Linked DNA regions of Homo sapiens: regions 1, 2, 4, 5, 6 and 7 are each linked to region 3. Evidence: promoter capture Hi-C in 16 types of primary human blood cells and fetal thymus (Javierre and others, 2016). All regions are on one chromosome and are shown on one strand. The core of a region is centred on a gene start or on the middle of the fragment in contact, and the rest is flanking DNA. Distances in the headings are between cores, read along the strand shown. Region 1 overlaps GALNT1 (polypeptide N-acetylgalactosaminyltransferase 1). Region 2 has its middle 76 kb from the start of MAPRE2. Region 3 holds the start of ZSCAN30 (zinc finger and SCAN domain containing 30). Region 4 has its middle 46 kb from the start of MAPRE2. Region 5 has its middle 27 kb from the start of MAPRE2. Region 6 overlaps DTNA (dystrobrevin alpha). Region 7 overlaps GALNT1 (polypeptide N-acetylgalactosaminyltransferase 1).

Region 1 (2,832 bases), core at 282-2,781, 290 kb after region 3:
CCGAGTCCTGCTATTCCAAGTGTGGATGGTGTACCAGCAGCATCCCTGTCACCTCAGACTCAAGTAATGCAGAATGTGAAGCCCCGCTGCACATCAACTGAATCAGTATCTGCTTTACCAGGATTTCAAGTTATTTGTGTGCACTTTGAAACCTGAGAAGCCTTTGTTCAGCGTGCTGGTGATAACTGCGTTTAATGACTGCTCTGCTGGTTTGTTTGGTGCCTCTTAAGCAGCAGACTGCAAAACTCTTGGGAGCACTCACCATTTATGCAAATACTTGTTAAATGCCTGGCTTTCTCAATAGAGTTTAAGCTTTATGAGAGCAGAGATTGTGGCTTCCTTTTCCAGCCATGTATCACTGAAGACTTTACAGTGCCTGGTAAGCAATAAGCACTTGGTATAAATGCTTGTTGGATAAACGAATGAGTGTGCTAGGATACTTAAGCGTGGTTGTTAGCTGGGTGTGGTGGCATGCGTCTGTAGTCCTAGCTATTCCAGAGTGACAGCGCGAGACCCTGTCTCAAAAAACTGAAAACCCAACAACAACAAAACTGATTGTTAATCCCAAGCAGTTACAGGCAAGGTAATTCTCATGACATCAGGTGAGAGAGCATGGGACCAGAGTCAAAATGAAGATAGATCTGTTTGTAACTTTCAGTGGGACGCTCCAGCTACTCTGACTGGAGTTTTGCTCCTGGCTCACTTGCATGCCCTATCCCTCTTTTAACTAATATAATAATAATTTTGAATCTGAATCACACATTAGTGCTTCATATAGTTTTTAAAAAATTTTGTATTTTTTTAGGTAGCTAAATTCCAGACATTATTTGGATTTCACCAGTTTTTCCGTTAATATCTTCTTTCTGTTCCAGAATCCAGTCCAGTGTACTACATTGTATTTTGACATCATGTTTCTTTAATATTTGGTTTGTGATAGTTTCTGTCTTGTCTGGTTTTCCATAACTTTGGTAGTTTTGAGGAATACTGTCCTGGCTTTCTTTGATGGACAGCTTTCCATACTCATTCTCATGAAAGGTCACAATCAGGTTGACGCTGTTTCTGCTTTTACTTATTTATTTATGTAATACATCTGTCATGCTTATGTAACATACAACTTTGGTACTTTTTTTTCAGTAACAGATTTCTTGGATACAGTTCCTAATTGGTTGAGATGCAGAAGAGTGTTATACCATTGCAGTTATATACCAAGTTTTATTTTTTGATGGGTTAAGAGCTGGGCTGAGGTAGAGGAGGAAGGAAAGAGGAGAGATCAGTTAAAAGAGGCAGTTAGGCAAAGAGGGACCAAGGCAAAGGGAGTGACAGATAATGGAGGAAGAGGAGTGCGGCAACTTCGTAGAAGAGAGTTAGGAGTGACTACTTACTGTTTGTTCATTTATTCAATTAATATTTATTGACTCAGCAGTCCCAGTCTCTCTGGCACCAGGGACCAGTTTTGTGGAAGACAGTTTTTCCGTGGACCAGGTTGGGGGCCAGGGGAATGGTTTCGGGATGAAACCGTTACACCTCAGATCATCAGGCATTAGATTCTCATAAGTCTTGTGCAACCTAGATCCCTCATATGTAAAATTCACAGTAGTGTTTGCCCTATGAGAATTTAATGCCGCTGGTGATCTGACCGGAAGGAGGTGGAGCTCAGGCAGTAATGCTCGCTTGCCCACTGCTCACCTCCTGCTGTGTGGCCAGGTTTCTAACAGGCCACAGACTGGTACTGGTTCATGGCTTGGGGGTTGGGGACCCCTGTATGGAGCGATTAATGTGTGCCACACCCAGTGCTGTAGTCTCAAGATAACTGGGGGTGGATAGCATTAAATAAACATGCAAATAAGTACATAAATACAATTTGTGATTATTGCTACACATTAGCAGTAAAGGATGCTGGAGAGATTGTAGGTGGGGGAACTTCAGGTTGGCTGGGTTGGGGAGGACGGCTTCTCTGGGTATGTAACATTTAAACTCCTGCACCTGACTTTTGGGGACCCTTCAGAGTTACCCTCCACATTTCTTATCCCATTTTTATGTTATTTCACAACCCCCGACACATGCCTCTTTCTTCATAGGCACTTTGCTTATTTCTGGCTCTGTACCTTTTTATGTGATTTCTTCTCCTTCCCAAGATGTCCCCTTCTCCACCTCCACTTGTGGAAGTGCTACCTGTTTTTCATAGATTTGCTCAAGGTCTTTCTCCTTGATGAAGTTATTCACTGTTGATTTATGCCTCTTGAGTGTATGGTGTTTAAGGGTAGGGATAACAGTTTACATTTATATCTGTGTGTCCTCATTTAGTCCTCAGTTACCTGGTTGCTTCCAATGGTATCATTTTGTAAAGCTATAGTACAATTTCCAGACCTGTAATAGTCACATTGAAACAGTCAAGATAGAGAAAATTTTCATGGCCACAAGATTTCCTTATGTTTTTTTGTAGCCACACCTACTACCCTTCTACCTCCACCCCCTCCTTAAACTCTGACAATTACTAATTTGTTCATTTCTGTAATTTTGCCATTTTAAGAATGTTTTATAAATGGGATAAGTGTCTTTTGGAATTGGCTTTATTCACTCAGCATAATTCTCTGGAGATTGATCCAGGTTGTTGCATGTATCAGTAATTACTCCCTTTTCATTGCTAAGTAATATTCCATAGTATGAATGTACTTTTACGGATCTTTTAACCATTTACCTGTTGAACATCTGGTTGTTTCTAGTTTTTGGCTATTGTGAATAAAGCTGCTGTAAGCTTTTGTGTATAGGTTTTTGTGTGAACAGAGTCTTTATTTCTCTGGGATATATGCCCAGGAGTACACTTACTGGGTT
Region 2 (2,965 bases), core at 145-2,644, 320 kb before region 3:
CGGCCTCCCAAAGTGTTGGGATTACAGGCGTGAGCCACTGCACCCGGCCTCTAAGTAAAAATTGTAATATTCATCTGCTAAGGTCATCTAAGTCATCTCAGTTCACCTGAATTGTAACCGTTTTTAGGAAAGTGAAAATGTACATGAAATGTATAGGGACCGAACAGGGAAAACTGAAAAATTTTCTTATTACTAAAAAAAAAGAATGTAAAAATGAATGCTTGAAAAGTGTGATGGTTAATTTTACTAGTCAACTTGGCTAGGCAGTGGTGCCCAGTTGTTTGGCGTCAGCACCACAGGCCAAACACACACACACACACACATACACACAACTACATATACAAAGAGAGAGACTGATTTATTTTTGACACACAAAAGCCAATAAAAATGTCTACTAAAACTTTGGGAGGCCAAGGCAGGTGGATCACCTGAGGTCAGGAGTTCGAGACCAGCCTGGCCAACATGGCAAAACCCTGTCTCTACAAAAATACAAAAATTATCTGGGCGTGATGGTGCGTGCCTGTAGTCCCAGCTACTCGGGAGGCTGAGGCAGGAGAATCGCTTGAACCCAGGAGGTGGGGGTTGCGGTAAGCCGAGATCGTGAGATTGTGACACTGCACTCCAGCCTGGGAGACACAGTAAGCTTCCGTAAAAAAAAAAAAAAAAAGGGAAAAGTATAAAAAGAAAAAAATAGAAATCCCCTATAATCAGGAATATCACCATTTTAAAATGTTTTATTCAACTTTATCTATTTACTTACTTTTACATGTATGAAAACATATGGGAACTTACTTTACTCAAATGACATCACACTGCATATATCAGATTCAAAACCTTGGAATCTTGTTTTTGTCCCGTAATATATTAAAGTGATCATTTTTCCATGCCCCTAAGTATCTTTAACGTAAATACCTAAATATATTTAACTGCTGATTTTTTTCAGCAGCTACCAAATAATCCATCACATAACTGAACTACAATCTGTTTAACTAGTTGACTGTTTCTGGGCTTTTTGATGATTTCTTTTTCTTTAACTACACAGTGCTCTCTCCTGATTTGAAAAAGCCAGTCAGACACTGTTTCTGGAATCTGAGGTTTCTAGAAGCCAGGATCAAAAGTGTCGCACTTGGTTCCACTTCATGCAAGCTAGAGCTCATTATGAATAAAAGAGCATGTTGCTAACTTGGCCTTTAGCCAGAGTCTGACCTGGCATCAAAACATATCACTGTTCTGGAGATAATCACAAAGATCTGCAACCATCATAAAGGTTTCTGTGGCAGTGACATGGACTCCTGATCCCTGTTCCTATGTTGTCATTGCTATTATAAACATGCATTTGTATTAAACTAACATAGTAATGTTTGTGACTTGTCTAAAATTTGTTTAATCTTGTAAGATTCTTGTAAGAAAGAAAATCAACAAAGAAAATAAAAGGAAAGGAGGAGTTATGAATATACCTGTTTGGTATCTCAGTAAGAACATATTTTGTATTCTATATTTACTCATACTCCCAGTTATGAGACAAAACTAAATGTGTGCTTGTGAGTGATGAACAGAATGGATGTTCTTGGAGAACAAAGGAAACACATGGTAGCATGTGAGTGTTCCTCCAAAGCACAGTTGATTTGGGAGTTTCAGGGCCCAACTCTCCCATCACTGCAGATATTGTTCTCTATCCATTATCCTCATTTACAGAAATCCTGATCCATATCCCCAGAGCCAACATACAGCTCACAGCAGCTAGATTTCTCTGAGACAATTAAGTGGCTTTTTTCCCAGTTGCTCTTCCCAGAATTTAGACGGGAGAAAAACATTTTGTGAAATGTTAATACTCTAATGGCAAGAATTAATTTGTGGATGTGGTTAAATGCTATCTTAGCAACGCCTTGAAATGTAGCGTATGATTAGCACTTCACCGGTACAGATATTCATTGCCTTTAAGAAATTCATTTTAATGTCTCTTGTTCTATTATTGTTATGTACTGCATTTTATGCCTTCCTTTTAAATCTTATTTTCCATATTCTAAAGAAAACTCTTTCTTACGAATGATGCATTTTACTTTTCAGACTAATCTTAACTTTCCTACCTCTTGTTTGGAGACTCATATAAGATGTTTATTGTCTTCAGGATGTCTGTTAGCTAAAAGAAGCTTAGAAGGACATTTTCTCCTACATGCTGAATGACTGAAACTTGAATGTGTGAAAGTTACTATCTTACAATAAATTTATGTTACATAGTGTTTCTAAAAAACAGAGTCACTAAATTACGGAGAAATAATACAACGTGGTAAAGATGATTTGGATTAAAACAACAGGAAAAAAATTCAAATCAGGATATATTTATGAATCTATTCTTTTATTTATTTATGTATTCATTTGTTCATTCAAAAGTATTTAATTATCATCTGTCATATCTCAGACACAGTTCTACGCCCTGGAGACAGACCAGTAAACTAAAAGACAAAAATTCTTGTCATCTTGGGCCCCATATTCTAGTGGAGAAAGAGACATTCCTACACTAAAATAAATTCCAATTTTATAAGGAAATCACAGCATAAGTGCTGGAAATTTTAAATAATAAAATGCCACAAAACATAAGAAAATTCCAAATTTAAATAAATATATATTTGGCATAAAACCATATTTATGAGATAAATATTAGAAATAAAATTGTATGAAGCCTGAAATTATACTGGTAAATTATCTGCAAGTGCTTAGTAAGTATAAGGGAAAAGCAAACACTTTCTCTTCTCTTACAAAGTTGACTCTCTCACAATTTTGGTTACCAAAATGTTGGGGAGTGGGCTTCTCCACACACCAAGCAATTCTCCAGCAGACTCCAACTGGATGTCCTACAATTTAACTCAATTCTCACACTACCTACCTAGAAATAGCATCAGATCCCACAGGTTAAGGGCTCACTCCAACAAAACTACCCCCAACTGGAAATGCCAATCACAAATCT
Region 3 (2,700 bases), core at 131-2,630:
TATTTTGATTGCAGTGATAGTTCCACAGCTGTATTCATTTAACAAGCCTTATCAAATTATATCCTTTAAATATTTGCTGTTTATGTCAGTTATACCTCAATAAAGCTGTTTTGTTTTGTTTTGTTTTGTTTTGTTTTGAGACAAAGTCTCGCTTTGTCACCCAGGCTGGAGTGCAGTGGCGCAATCTCGGCTCACTGCAACCTCCGCCTCCTGGGTTCATGGGTTCACGCGATTCTCCTGACTCGGCCTCCCAAGTAGCTGGGATTAAAGGCGCACACCACCATGCCCAGCTAATTTTTGTATTTGTAGTAGAGACAGGGTTTCACCTTGTTGGCCAGGCTGGTCTCCAACTCCTGATCTCAGGTGATCCACCTGCCTCAACCTCCCAAAGTTTTAGGATTACAGGCCTAAGCTGCGCCTGGCCAAAAAGAAAGCTGTTTTTTTAAAACTATCTGCACTCCCTACTTGGGAGGGTTGGACTCAAGTTCCCACATCTCTTTCCTCTTACGGTTATATTAAGGGCTTAGTCATACATCCCTAAATTTCATATATCCCAACAGGGACTTGGGCTGGGACAGGAAGCCCTCTTCCTCCACCTCAACTACCACTTAGCCACCCACCATTTTCTCAAACCTCTTCCTTTCCCCACCGGACAGCTTAAACCAAGTCACACGTCTCATTGGTCTCAACAGAAATGAGGTCCCAACTCCTCATTTCCCAAGATATTTCCATGAACACAGCAATATCCTTTCCTACCCTGATTACCCCGCACCCTCCATTTCGGGTCCTTCTCACCCTGATCAGTGAGAATTGTTCTAGCAAGCAAACCTTAAATAGACCTCGTACCCTTTCTAGATTGCAAAGTAGATAAAAATCCAACTTTCCGTTAATTCAGGGATTAATTACTGAGCATCACTTATTTCTTGGGCAGTGGTTCTCAAAATGTGGTCCCAGGACCAACAGCTTCAGGATCACCTGAGAACCTGGGCTGCCACCGCCCCCTCCCCCACTACTAAATCAGCAACTCCGGAGTTGTGGGGCAGAAGTCAGTATTTTAACAAGGCCTCCAGGTGATTCTGATGCGCGCTACTCTTCTGGGGGTGTGAAAAACCAGAGAGGACAGGAAGAAAGTTAGAATTAAAGCATACCTACGAATCAGATAAGCGATAGGGGGAGGGGTGGTTATTTAAAAAACGATAACTAATTAAGAACTTGTATGTAGTAAGAAAACCTACCCTGCCCCAGAGAGCTTTCCCGAAAGATAATGGATTCCGACATTCACCTCAAGAACCGGCAGACAGAGCAGCAAAGGATCTGTCGCTGGCCAAGCAGGTCCCTGGCTAAGGCACTGCTAGGGACAGCTCGCGGCGGTTCGGGGGTTAATTCTCGGCAGCCCTCCGTCACCCGGTGCCCCACCCCCGCCCTGCGCCTGCGCGGTGAAGCGCCATAGAGCTGAGCACTCCTCCCAGATTCCTAGAGCGGACAGGGCGATGGCAGGTTCGCCGGGTGTGAGGCTTCACAGCGGTCCGGTGACCAAGTCGAGGTAAGGGTGATGTCGGCTCGCGGATAGCAGAGGAGTTCCGGGTGATCTTGCCTAACGAGCAGGAAACTGTGCATGGTTTCTCGAGTCCTTGGAGAGTGAAGGCCCCCGGGGTCGCTCCCGGGCACGGAGAGACGATTGGTTCACGGCCTAGTGTTCGGTTTGTTCCCAGTCAGCCCTTGCTGGCCTTGGGTTCAACCGAATGAACGCCAGAAACTCTGTGGGGTGGGGGGAGTCACCAACCGTGGTGCATCCATACGAATCAGCCTACCGTACTGGGAAAGAGCCACCTGAATTTGTGAATGTTGTAAAAGCAAAAGGAAGAAAAATGATCAGTAGTGTCATTTTTGGATAGGAAGGGCAGCGAATAACATAGTGTTAACCACTAGAATTCACTGTAAAATTCCCCTCTCTGCGTTATCTTTCCAGTTATACCTTTTTTTGGTAGCATTAACCCCTAATTTTGTTTGAACATCTCTAGACTTGGAATGGGGAATGTGTGTCTTAAGTGGGTTAATCCCTGGCTCTTGGATGATGGGGAGGAAGCCTAATACATTCTGAGAGAAAAGCAACTGGAAGTCAAATGAGATTTTTTGTTTTCTCCTTCTTTTATATCTTGAGGATTTTTCTGGTGGTCTAGTCTCAGAGATTACATCTGTAGTCAGCACAATGATTCCCTTCCAAGCCCAGTGGTGCCCAGTTGCCTCCAGGTCCCAGACCTTTATGTGGACAAGAAAAGCTTACAGAGGAAATGGTAATTCTCCACTTGCACACTGAGGTGTCCAGTTGCAGCCCATGGAGATCCAGTTCAATTATGAATCTCAGGAACACCACCTTCTGTCAGGTGAGAGGCAGGGTATTATATCTTTCTTAGTGGCTTTGGCGGGGTGGGGAGGATGAGGGGGTGTCACTCTATGCTAGTGTCTTCAAATGATCCCCCTTAACTCTGTTAGGCAGTATTACCTCTTTAGTGTACCAAGCATAGTCACATGACTTTATTTCAAAATCTGGCGATCAAATTCTCATGCAGCTCTCTCCACTTTTTTAAGACCCCAAAGTCATTCATTTTTCCCTGTATAATGACCTCATTGCTAATCTGTCAGTTTTGGTCATTTTTCTTATCTACTGTAGGGGCATAGTTAAAAGTTCTGGAGTCTGAC
Region 4 (2,902 bases), core at 352-2,851, 290 kb before region 3:
ATAATCAGAGGGTTGACAGAGAGGGTCTCACAAAATCAGTACATAATTCTTGAAATATATGCCCTTCATTATTTATGTCGAATAACAAATTAAATGAATCCTAGTGTTTTAGAGCTGAGAGCAACCTTGGAGATGATCTCATTTAATGCCATTTTATAGAGGAAAAACTGAGGCATGGATTTTCTTTTTTTTTTTTTTTTTTTTTACTGAAACCACTAGTAATTGCAAAGTTTTAAATGTTTATAGCACATCATTTGCTTTTGACATTGCTTTGCAGATCATCTGAGCTGCTTCCTGGCTCTCCAGTACATTGTACTAACTGGGAGGATGGGGAGACATTTGCTGTCCCCATGGGGAATGAAAAAGGAAACCATGTGGGATGGGGAGGGGCAAGAAAGAAGAAAAACAAGCTTCTCTAGGCTCCAAAAAATTTGAAGGAAATAAAGATATTAAGCACTTGTTAGATGAAGTGATAGCTACAAAACACGTAATCTGTACAACAATCTTATGAGCACTATTCAACATTAAGCTAACAGAAGAAGTCTCAGTTGTGGTCAAAAAATAGTTTTGTTTTTTGGCTTCTGTTTTTTGCTTTTTTTTTTCTTTTCCTAGGCTGCCAACCTTAGAGAAATGATGGTCAAACTGGGGCTGCCAAGGTCATGTATTACAGAAGAGGCAGCAAAAAAGGCCTTGGCAGGGCCAGAAAGGCCAGAGAAGGTCCTGTTCCAAGGATTTCTTGGGGCCCTTTTCATCGAGGCCGCATCCACATGATCCCTGAAGATAGGTATTCCCTCCCATTCTGTTTAAGCTGTTAGTTTTCCCTAGATTTAATTCTATTGTAATATTTTATATCCCTATAATCAGGAGATATTTTCAAATTCAATAATAATAATGATAAATTTAATAAGTATTTTCCATGTACATAGAAATTTATAGTTGCTAAAGAATTTTTATATGTAACAGCAGCTCTTTAAGGAGCTGTACTTTACAGAAAACTGTAAAAACTGGGTCCCAGAGTTTAAGTGGCATGCCCAAAGTCACATAATTGGGAAAACCTCAAACCCAGGGGATGATACCCCAAGTCCCAATGCTCTTTATACCAGGCAGCTTTACAAATGATAGTTGAATTCTCAGGGTAGCCCTCAAAGATCCCTTTAACCCATAAAAGTATTAACTTATACCAGTATGTTAACCTCTAACCAACTCATATTTCCATAGAAACATGCATTGGGTTTTAAAAACTTAGGTAAATACATTTTCTGGACACATCTCCCTGTAGGTGAGGACTCCTGATATTCTAGCATCAGTGGGCGCTTCTTTTCCCTCAGTTTGAAAATGCAAGTGCACCAAGAGAGGAATGTTATTATAAAGTATGGGCAATCTCAAATTCATTTTGAGCCTGACACTTTTAGGCAGAATAATGGTCCCAGTATGGTATACAGTTGTGGAATCAAGTAATGCAGTTTTTAAGTTTTTTAGCTCATTGTTTGCTAGTCACAGAATTTGGCAGGACTTCCAAGCATCTTCCTATCTCTCAAGCACACTGGATATATGTGTGGCAGCTTCATCTGATCCAATTGCCTACACAAGAAAATAACAGTGGCTTCACTGAGGGTGCTCATGTAACAAGATCCAGAGACAGCCATTTGAGTCAGCAGAGGAAAAAATAACAAATTTTTGTTAAAACACTCTCTAATGCATTTGCACAAACTAGTTAATCAATTAAATACATATCATCTTCAAAAGGGGAGAACTTCCCTAAGAACCTGGAACTCTGGGTGAGTATGTTACCACTGGGGGCTAGGAATAATTGCAGGAAGGAGGAGCAAGAAAAAAGTGGTGTGCACCAAGGATGGACTTCACATCCTTAGTTTTGCTTGCTTGGGGGTAAGGTCTAAGCTATATGTTTGTGTCCATTGTTTGGTAGTAAGGTCTAAGCTATACATTAGTTTATCTCAGTTGGGATCATGTGAGTGAATGGCTCCTTTACCAAGCGCATGTTAATCTGTCACCATAGCAGATTCTAGAAAGAGCCTGAAGCACAGAGAGTGTGTGTGTGTGCCTTGCAACTCAAGGTGTGGTCTTTAGACCAGCAGCATCACCTAGAAGATTTTAGAAAGGCGGATTCTCACACCCCTCAACGGCTAGACGTACTGAATCATAACCTGCATTGTAACAAAATTCCCAGGTGATTCATAAAGTCAGGAAAGCGCTGTCACAGATGAACCTGATAGTTAAAATGCTTGTTTTCCTCTAATTTTCAGAATGAGAAAAACAAATGATCTTCAAACTCTATATGCTCCCCAAGAAAACAGCAGTCAGGAATTTTTCCACCCCTGCTGTCAATATCATTGCCTTCACAGCCCTGTGATATGATTATTTTGTGTTTATTACCTCGGCGGTCCTAAACCTTTTTGGCACCAGGGACCAGTTTTGTGGAAGACAATTTTTCCATAGACTGGGGGTAGGGTGGAGGATGAGGGATGGTTTCGGGATGAAACTGTTCCACCTCAGATCATCAAGCATTAGATTTTCATAAGCAGCGGGCAACCTAGATCCCTCATGTGCACGGTTCACAATAGTGTTCGCACTCCTATGAGAATCTAATGCTGCAGCTGATCTGACAGGAGGCAGAGCTTAAGTGGTTACCCAACTAGACTTAAGTCCTGGGTGGCTGTTCTGTGTCTTGTTCACCCTTAGAATCCCAGCACCCAACATGGTACCTGGAATCTAATAGGTGTGTATGGTGGTACTCAAGAGTCCCAGCTTCAAAGTACAACAAACATGGGTTGGAAGCTTCAGTTCATACATCTATGAGATGGGATAAAGAATAACACCTCTTATAGGGTTATTGGGAGGAGTAAATGAGCTGATGCACCAGAGCCCCTGATGTACTGTAGCT
Region 5 (2,700 bases), core at 145-2,644, 280 kb before region 3:
TCAATGTCATGTTCAGAATGGGAGCCAGATGCAAGAAGTTGAGGAGGAAGGGAGAAATTGAGAAGTGGAAAGGGCAGGTTTAGATAACCCTTAAGATACTGACTATAAAGATGGAGACAGAAAGCAGGACCTGTGGGGAAGAAGAGTTGATTTAAGGTAGAAGAGACCTGAGTGATTTAAACACTGCCTGGAGGCAGCCAGTGGACAAGGCATAGGAGAAACTGGTAGAAAGTTACAAACTAGAGCTTTTTAATTTTGTTAATTGACAAATAGTTCTTGTACATATTCATGGGGTACATAGTGATGTTTTGATATGTATAATGTAAGTAATTATATCAGGGTACTTAGCATATCCATCATGTAAAATATTTATAATTTCTTTCTGTTAGGAACATTTAATATTTTCATTCTAGCTATTTGAAACTATATGTTATTGTCAACAATAGTCAACCTACAATGGTATAGAACACTAGAACCTATCCCTCCTGTCTAGCTGTAATTTTGTATCCTTTAACAAATCTCTCCCTATCCTTTCCTTCCCCCAACCCTTCCCAGCCTCTAGTATCCTGTCTTCTACTTTTTACTTCTATGAAATCAACTTTTGTTTAGTAATAGCTTTCACGTATTAGTGAGAATATGCAGTGTTCAACTTTCTGCTCCTGGCTTATCTCACTTAATATAATGACCTCCAGTTCCATCCATGTTGCTGTGAAAGACCAGATTTTGTTCTTTTTCATGGCATTGTGTGTATATACTACATTTTCTTTATTCATTCATCTGTTATTGGACACCTAGTTTGATTTAATATCTTGACTATTGTAAACAATGCCACAATAAACATGGGGGTACAGATGTCTCTTTGACATAATGATTTACTTTCTGATTTAAATATACCAGGGCTTTGAAAAGGCAGGAGGCAAGAGGGGAGACCATAGCCCTTTATTGCAACAAGCAAGAATCCGAATAAGATGGCAATCCTTTAGGTAAATATGTAGGTTTGGGGACAGAAAAGTTAAATTCTGGTCTAATGGCTTCAATACCTTCTATAAAGTCAGATGCAAGGCCATCTGCTAAGGGAAGAGAAGGTGGTAGGGTCGGAGATATAAGGACACGGAAAAAGTATTGAAACATCTGGTTTATGAATAATGACGGAACCCAAACTAGGGAAACAGAAGGGTGATTTAGAAGCATTGAGATCCACTGGGTTTGGAGGCCATCAGTTTACAGTTGTGCTAGTCTCCCGGGCAGGGTGATTTTTTTTTTTTTTTTGGTCCCAGCAGGTCTCGGCAGTCTATATAAGGCATATATACCTGGCAGATAAAAATTGTATAAAAGCTCTTCTTTGGGGAAACGTGAAAATTGATCATGAGGGTGACACATTTATTTTTAAATGGACTAATGCTTTATTTCTTTCTCTTTACAATGTTGTAAGAGCCAAATGACTGGGTTAAGAGTTGCAAATTGTTTGGTTTATAATGAGTTTGTTATTGGTACAGAGATTGTAACTAACTCTCCAGGGCCCTCTGTTGACTACAGAGATTATTGGGGACCAACCTTAATTATCAATTGATCATTGATCAGAGTGAAACTTAGAACAACTTACTGAGCAGTTTGATGGTGTTACATCCCCCCTCACAAACTTGTATTCCCTTTTAAGGGTACTGTGGCCCCAGGGACAAGCACTGTGTTGCATATACAAATACATCTACACTATGCTTAGTGCACCTTTACCACGTTGTAAATCCATGGCATTGCCATAGATTTTTGCCTTTTGCATGGAGTACCAGGATCTAGTTAAGTAACAGTCATTTTTGCTAGCCAAAATGTCACTAAAATTACTCTGAGGTTGACATGTCTTATCAAAATTTTCTGTACAAGTAGGCTGTGGTATATGGAAAGAATGCTACTGCTGTCTCACAGGCCAATGCCTAGAATGCTTGTATATATTCAGACCCCTAAACAAGAAATGTGTTTCCTCTACCCCCCTTCACTTTCTGACTTTACTTTCCTGGCCAGAGAGTCACTAAGAATAACAAGTCCTGCCATCAACAAGTTGGTGATAGCCTAGGGATTCTGGTCCTGGTGAGGTTGAGTACAGGGGAAGGAGCAAGACCTGTAAACAGTCCACCAAGCCAAAGTGGATTCACCTTCATTTCCTAAACTGTGTAATACCTGAACACCAGACCCCTGTATATAGGGGAAAACATGTGGGAGAATAAACTTTATTTGATGCCTACGGTGTACCAGATACTCTGCTAGCAACTTATCCTCATATGTTCTACATGAAACTTCGTTGTTGCTTTTTACAAATGAGGAAATTGTTTCAGAGAGGTTACTGACTTGTTCAAGGCATATAGTTAGTAAGTGGTAGAGCCAAGATTAGGACCCAAGCGGGTGTGAATGCAAATTTGTTATCTACCCTAACGAATCACGTTTTATTTTCCTTCTAGTCCTCATTCACATAATTTTACACAGTTGGTGGGTGTGTATAGGGATGGCAGTGTGTGTGTGTGTGTGTGTGTGTGTGTGTGTGTGTGTGTGTGTGTATTTTTGCCTTTAAGCCCTGGTTGGGAAGAATTTTTTCCTTTCTACAGTTGTCAGATCATGAACAAAAATTCAGAACAAACCCCAATAAATTGCAGAAACACTAACTAAAATCAAATGCTACTTTTTACATTTCTACTTTTATTTTAGATTCTT
Region 6 (2,936 bases), core at 175-2,674, 420 kb before region 3:
TCTCAAATCACTAGATCCAGATATGTTCCAGAATTTGGCATTTATCTGATTTTGAAAAGCAATATGATGCAGATATCGTATCAGTTACCTCACATCCATTAAGACCAAATTCATTATGGAATGACCAGTGTTTGTCAGAGCTTTTTTGGCTTTCAGAATTGCAAATAAGAGATTGTAGGCCTGTACTTCTGTACCAATTGATAAACAGTCCAAGGCCCTCCCATCACCCTGAGCACCCATACATCTTTTCCATGATCCAGCAACTAAAAGGTATTGCCTGGCCCAGTAGCAGGAAGCCCTAGGACGCTGCTCCAGCACCACAAGGTGGTCCTACTGGGTCTGTGCCCTGTGTCTTTTCCCTCTTCAGGCTGCTGAACCTTTCTATAGTAGTGAAGCATAGATGGAAGCGTATGATGGCTGGTCACAGTGCCCACAGTCCTTAGACTCAGCATGGCAAACCCTGAGCTTGGAGTCTAAAGACTGGGGATCAATTTTATCTCTGCCATTCTCTTGCTCAGAAACCTTGGGTAATCCAGTTATCTCCTCTTAGCCTCAGTTTGCTAATATATAAAATGGGAATAATAATACTTCATATGGTTATTAAGAGGATTACATGAAGTATTAGGGGTTAAAGTGCTTTATGGACTGCAAATTGCTATTCAAATATAAGATATTACCACTTGTACCACTGTACTAGGAAAATGAAACAAAACAGTGTATGTAAAAGTGCTTTGTACATTGAATTACTTACAAAAGTGGAGTTATATTATTATTGTGAACTTCTCACCATGGAAGACAATCTGAGTTCCCAGGGATGAGACGGTAACCCACACTGATAGCCAAGAGAATCCTACTTCTTAATAACCACTCTGTCCAACTTCCCTTCTCTAGTCCCCACTCCCGGCTGTGTTTGGTCCCTTGATAAAGAGGACAGAGACAAGAGGCTCAGGAGCCTTGCTAAGGCCTCTGCCTTAAAAAGGGTGTACAAGAGGAATTGCCAAAGTAGGAAGAGCTCAGGGCATCTGACCAGCGTCTGTCTCCATTGAGGGACTTTTTGCCAGCCATGGCCAGCAAGGCTCCCGCAGCCCAGGGCACTCAGAGCCCCTGGGCTCAGCCCCAGCCCTGCCCCTCTGACTCCGTCTCCAGATAAAGCAATTATTTTCACCTCTCTGAGTACTGGGCTCCACAACTTCACATTTAGAGTAAGAATGCATACTTCCCAGGGTCATGGAGAGAAATCAGTGAGAGTGTATGTGAAAACCCTTTGAACATCATAAGGCACAACGCAAATGTGAAATTATTTATTATTGGCATGGGAAGGTCAAGGATGCAGTGGTAGCTCAGAAGCAGAAGGTTTCAAGGTAATGGGGCTGAGCTGCCAGAGTTTGCTGGGGAAAACTAGACCCCTCCTTGAGCAGGCCGAGGGAAGCAGGCTGCAAAAACATCACAACCGGGCAAAGTTCTCTTCCTTGGGCCTGGACAGACCATTACAAGGTACTGTTGAGAGTGAAAGAATGGGACCCTCAGCCCATTGGGCACCCCATGGGTTATTTTCTGTGCTCTGTTCTGTTTTGCTTCATTTTTAATTCTGGGTTTTTCTCAGTTTATGGCTTTAACAATTATGCGTGATGCTGAGCCTGGAGAGCTAACAGCATGGCATTTTTCAGGATTGATGTGGTGTGTTTTAACCACAAGCCACTGAGCCCAAAGCAAATATCTAAATGGAATATTCCAGAGCATTGCTCTGGTGGTATACATCTAGGAGTTTGAATGGGTTAATGATGACTCTCTGGGCCTTGCTGGAGAAGAATTCTCACTCTAGCAACCACAGCAAACAGACTGGGATGGAATTGATGTGAACACCTAATCTGTTGTGTATGCACTCAAGGGTCTCCTTGCATTTTCTTACGCATGTGGCTGACTTCTTTTGTCAACTAATTATTAAAACAGGGAGAATATTTCCAAGGCACCTCATTTAGAGACAAATCCTTAAGATTCAAAGTGTGACAGTCTCAGAATAGTTTCATGCCAAAAACTGTAGTGCAAAGATAAGTTCCTTCAGTTGTTTTCTACTTTTTTCTTTACTTGTCTTTAAATCCTACTATTCTTATTGTCCTGCTAGAATACTGCTTTTTCATAGGAGAAGAGAAGGACATTTCCTGCAGGAAATAATACCAAAAAATTAGAAAACAAGGTTTCTTCTTCTTCTTCTTCCCCATTGGAATCCCTGAGTTACTAATTTGACAAAATCAGCTTTTACTATAAAATAGGGATAAAACAATTTACACTTCATTTGATTCTTAATTTGAGACTTAATATGCACAATATTGTATGACATGATTTAAACTCTTATCCTCTAAAGATAATGCTAGTACAGTCAGGTTGAAAATTCAGAAAGCATCCATTGCAAATAGTCTTCTAGTTTGTATTTTAAACTTTCTCCTTAATGTCTTCTTAGTCCTCGGAGACCTTCCTTCAAGGAGAAAGTATCCACACCTTGTAATTATCTGCATTTAACAGTACCTTCATTTTATGGGCACATGTCCCATATACTGTAGAGCAATGCTGTACTAATAGTTTTAGCTTTCAATATTTAACCCAAACTTCAGATTACATACAATAAGGTCCTAAATTATCTGCACCTGCAAATTAGCTTTAGGATTACCAACACAATTACCTAGGATTTCCTCCTGCTTTGAAATTTCATTGTCACTGTTTTCAACAATCAACTGAGGCATTGGGGATGACATATGACATTTTCTTGGGAAAGCAAATTAATGACCTGCATTGTCTCTCCAGACTCAGGGGGCAGGCTCTCCCCGCTCCTCCCCCAGCCACACCATCAGCAGGCCAATTCCCATGCCCATCCGGTCAGCGTCAGCCTGCTCCACCCCGACGCACACGCCGCAGGACTCCCTCACAGGAGTAGGGGGAGA
Region 7 (2,700 bases), core at 82-2,581, 330 kb after region 3:
GTATTGGCACCACTCTTCAAATTCTGTGACTTCTCAGACCTTCCAGTCCTCTAGTATGGTCCACCCCTCAAACTTCTGACTCTTCAGCTTCCTCAGCTGAAAATGAAGATAAAACCCACTTGAAAGGGTTGTTATTAGGATAAAATTCTCTCTCTAATGCCTAAGCCACTGAGGAACCCTGTAACCATAGATCCTGACTCATTTATGCCAGAGTGAGGTGTGGTATGAAAACAAACAAAACTTTATGAGTAGTTCCTTCCCCATTTGAGCAGCAGTGACGGGTGAATGTAATGCAAGCGGCGCATTGCAGGCATTCAGACAGCTCCCCCCTCCATTTCCTGTCTGTGGCTACTGTTCTCTAGACTCTTCTCTCACACCACCAAGAATCATTTATTACAGGTATTTATATTGACCATTTCCTCCCTAAGGACAGTGATGTTGTCTAACTCATCTTTGTTCTCATATGGTCTGGTAAAATGCTTGGCATATAGTAGGGCAGTTAACAAATTTGTTAAGTGAACAAATGTCTACTATATGCCTTGCTTTTGTTCACAGAACACCAGTGTATGCAGTATTTGGCCTGCCAAAGTAAGATGTTAAATCCAAAGTAAGATGTTAAATCCTAATTTAGCGTTTAGCTATCTGAAACACGTTTAAAAGTTACTTCTTTGTTTTAACATCATATTTCGAGAAATTCTAACATATATAAAAGTAGACAGAACAGTGAAACGAGCCCTCTTAAACCTGTATCCATTCTCCAGATTCAGCAAACACATTTTCCCACTTGTGTTCCACCTCTCAATCTAACCTCACTCCCCTGCTCTTAAGCCCAAGTATTTTAAAGCAATGGAAGACATCATGTCATTTTACCTCTAACATTCTTCAGTATAGATCCTTTAAAATGAGAACATTTTGAATATGACCACAATGCTGTTAACATTCCTAATTAACAGTGATTGCTTAGTAGCATCTGTAACCCAGTTCATAATCATATTTCCTCAGTGGTCCCTAAAGTGTCTTTTTAAGTTGATTTGTAGATTCAAAACTCAAAACAAGATCAACATAGCACATTTAGTTTTTTTAAAAAAGCTTTCCTTAAAAAAATAAAAACAATACCTATTTTAAAAATTATTTCTCTCCCTTTCTCTTCTTCTTTTCTTTTCGATAACTCTTCAGATTAGGGTTCTTTATAATGAAACCATAAACTTTGCTCTAGCAGATAAAGGTTTCATCTTTTAAGACTGCTTTGCTGTTCTTTTTTTTTTTTTTTGATAGCCAAGCACTTAACATGTATAGAGAGCACTACTGCAGTTAACAGCACAGCAAAATGCAAAACTGTTAACTGCTCTGATTTTTCTTGTGCAATGAGATAGCATTATGTGCAGTACCATTAGGAAAATAATTTTACATCATTTTCATTCATAATTAACATTATTTACATTAAATGTAGTCTAAACCTGTAAAATAATCTTGTATTCATTAAAAAGTATATATTCTTTGGTATGTTTAGTTTAAATACATCTTTAAAAAATTTTAGTTATTCCTCTTGAATTTATGGTTAGGGTCTCAAGAAGGAAGCTTGAGACTAGACTGTAATGTGTGTTTGAAAAAGACTGCTCATGGATGAACTTAATTCTTAAATTCTCTAAAGCTCAAGTGGAGAAATGACATCTGCAAAAAATTTATCTTTTAGTTGCATTATGGGTAATAAAGACAAACATGTGTAACTGTTTAGTGTATTTAAAAGAAAAGGAGAGATAACCCAAGTGATTAGAGGTTTTAGTAGAATAGTTTTGAGAATTAGAATTTTAAAAAATAATACAAAAGAAATGTTTGAGTTATTGATGTGAATTAAATAGCAGGTTTATTTCAGAGTTTTTTTTTTCCAACAATTTACTTAACTTTCCTATTACATTGTTAAGTAAAATGTCAACTTAATTGTACTGCACTGTTTTTGTTTGTTTGTTTGTTCTGAGAGCAGGAAGCAAATCCTATAATCAGCCCTCCAAAGAGCTGAAACAAATATGAAGAAAAGGCGCTTGAGGTCATCCCCTAGAATGGATCTTAACTGATAGCAATGCAGAAGCAGCCTGAGACTACAGGGCAGACCGAGTTGAGGGAGGGAGGCAGAGAATAGCTTTTCACAGGAAAATCAGCAGGCAAGAATGCAAAACAATCACTAACGCTATAAACTAAGAGACGTTAAATGACATTAGGGAGAGACTAGTAAGAGAGAAACCAAGTTAGAAAACACAGCAACTTAAAAACCGATATGCCAAATTACTGATTAGTTAAGGAAAAAAGGAAGGGTATGGTTGTTTTGCAGTGTGTGGTACCTGCGATAAATCTGTAAGGTAGAATTTGTGACTAACCAGAACACTGTCTTTCTGTAACATGCTAATATATGTTTTGTTTTGTTTTTTCAATGGTAACTAAATATTTCAGGCTATTATTAGGGCCAAAAATCTAAAATCTACCCCTAACTCAAGTTTTGGTTTTTATTTGTTCTGTTGAGCAAATCTGAAAACTTTTTAGATCTCAAAAGGTCGCTTAAGTTAGTAACCTAGTAACATCAGACAGTGTATTAAGGAAAGCAATTCTCAAAAGAACCTTCATGCTTACAAATGTAAAAAAAAGAATTTCATCTAAGGGTACTACTGTCCTTTGAGATTTTTTTTCTTCTTTTTCTCCTCACAGATG

Evidence for each region. Contacts are between HindIII fragments. The CHiCAGO score rates a contact against its expected background, and 5 or more counts as called.
Region 1: a contact is called between a fragment that was not itself captured here and the fragment with the promoter of ZSCAN30 in region 3, in 3 of 17 cell types (total B cells, activated CD4 T cells and total CD8 T cells). The highest score is 6.2, in total B cells.
Region 2: a fragment that was not itself captured here is called in contact with the fragment with the promoter of ZSCAN30 in region 3 in 2 of 17 cell types (activated CD4 T cells and fetal thymus); the score reaches 5.7 in activated CD4 T cells.
Region 4: a fragment that was not itself captured here is called in contact with the fragment with the promoter of ZSCAN30 in region 3 in 8 of 17 cell types (activated CD4 T cells, fetal thymus, naive B cells and 5 more); the score reaches 7.3 in activated CD4 T cells.
Region 5: a contact is called between a fragment that was not itself captured here and the fragment with the promoter of ZSCAN30 in region 3, in 3 of 17 cell types (naive CD8 T cells, total B cells and total CD4 T cells). The highest score is 6.6, in naive CD8 T cells.
Region 6: a fragment that was not itself captured here is called in contact with the fragment with the promoter of ZSCAN30 in region 3 in 1 of 17 cell types (activated CD4 T cells); the score reaches 5.0 in activated CD4 T cells.
Region 7: a fragment that was not itself captured here is called in contact with the fragment with the promoter of ZSCAN30 in region 3 in 5 of 17 cell types (total B cells, erythroblasts, total CD8 T cells and 2 more); the score reaches 6.8 in total B cells.

Annotation. Positions count from the first base shown.
Region 1 is chr18:35,583,173-35,586,004 of GRCh38, forward strand. The region is part of intron 1 of GALNT1 (polypeptide N-acetylgalactosaminyltransferase 1); the gene reads left to right. Among named protein-coding and RNA genes, the nearest start is that of GALNT1, 2.8 kb to the left of the region's middle. The HindIII fragment of the contact is 2,443 bases long and covers 311-2,753 here.
Region 2 is chr18:34,964,118-34,967,082 of GRCh38, forward strand. No RefSeq gene overlaps it. Among named protein-coding and RNA genes, the nearest start is that of MAPRE2, 76 kb to the right of the region's middle. The HindIII fragment of the contact is 1,507 bases long and covers 642-2,148 here.
Region 3 is chr18:35,288,849-35,291,548 of GRCh38, forward strand. It overlaps ZSCAN30 (zinc finger and SCAN domain containing 30), which reads right to left and starts at 1,381. Exons shown (of 4, transcript NM_001112734.4): 1 at 1,236-1,381. It also overlaps the pseudogene ZNF271P. RefSeq lists an enhancer at 1,498-1,657. The HindIII fragment of the contact is 2,453 bases long and covers 1-2,277 here.
Region 4 is chr18:34,993,809-34,996,710 of GRCh38, forward strand. It overlaps a transcript of MAPRE2 not described here. Among named protein-coding and RNA genes, the nearest start is that of MAPRE2, 46 kb to the right of the region's middle. The HindIII fragment of the contact is 2,386 bases long and covers 409-2,794 here.
Region 5 is chr18:35,013,134-35,015,833 of GRCh38, forward strand. It overlaps a transcript of MAPRE2 not described here. Among named protein-coding and RNA genes, the nearest start is that of MAPRE2, 27 kb to the right of the region's middle. The HindIII fragment of the contact is 7,024 bases long and covers 1-2,700 here.
Region 6 is chr18:34,872,440-34,875,375 of GRCh38, forward strand. It overlaps DTNA (dystrobrevin alpha), which reads left to right. Exons shown (of 23, transcript NM_001386795.1): 18 at 2,800-2,936. Among named protein-coding and RNA genes, the nearest start is that of DTNA-AS1, 110 kb to the left of the region's middle. The HindIII fragment of the contact is 7,635 bases long and covers 1-2,936 here.
Region 7 is chr18:35,616,781-35,619,480 of GRCh38, forward strand. All of the region lies in intron 1 of GALNT1 (polypeptide N-acetylgalactosaminyltransferase 1), which reads left to right. Among named protein-coding and RNA genes, the nearest start is that of MIR3975, 26 kb to the left of the region's middle. The HindIII fragment of the contact is 489 bases long and covers 1,088-1,576 here.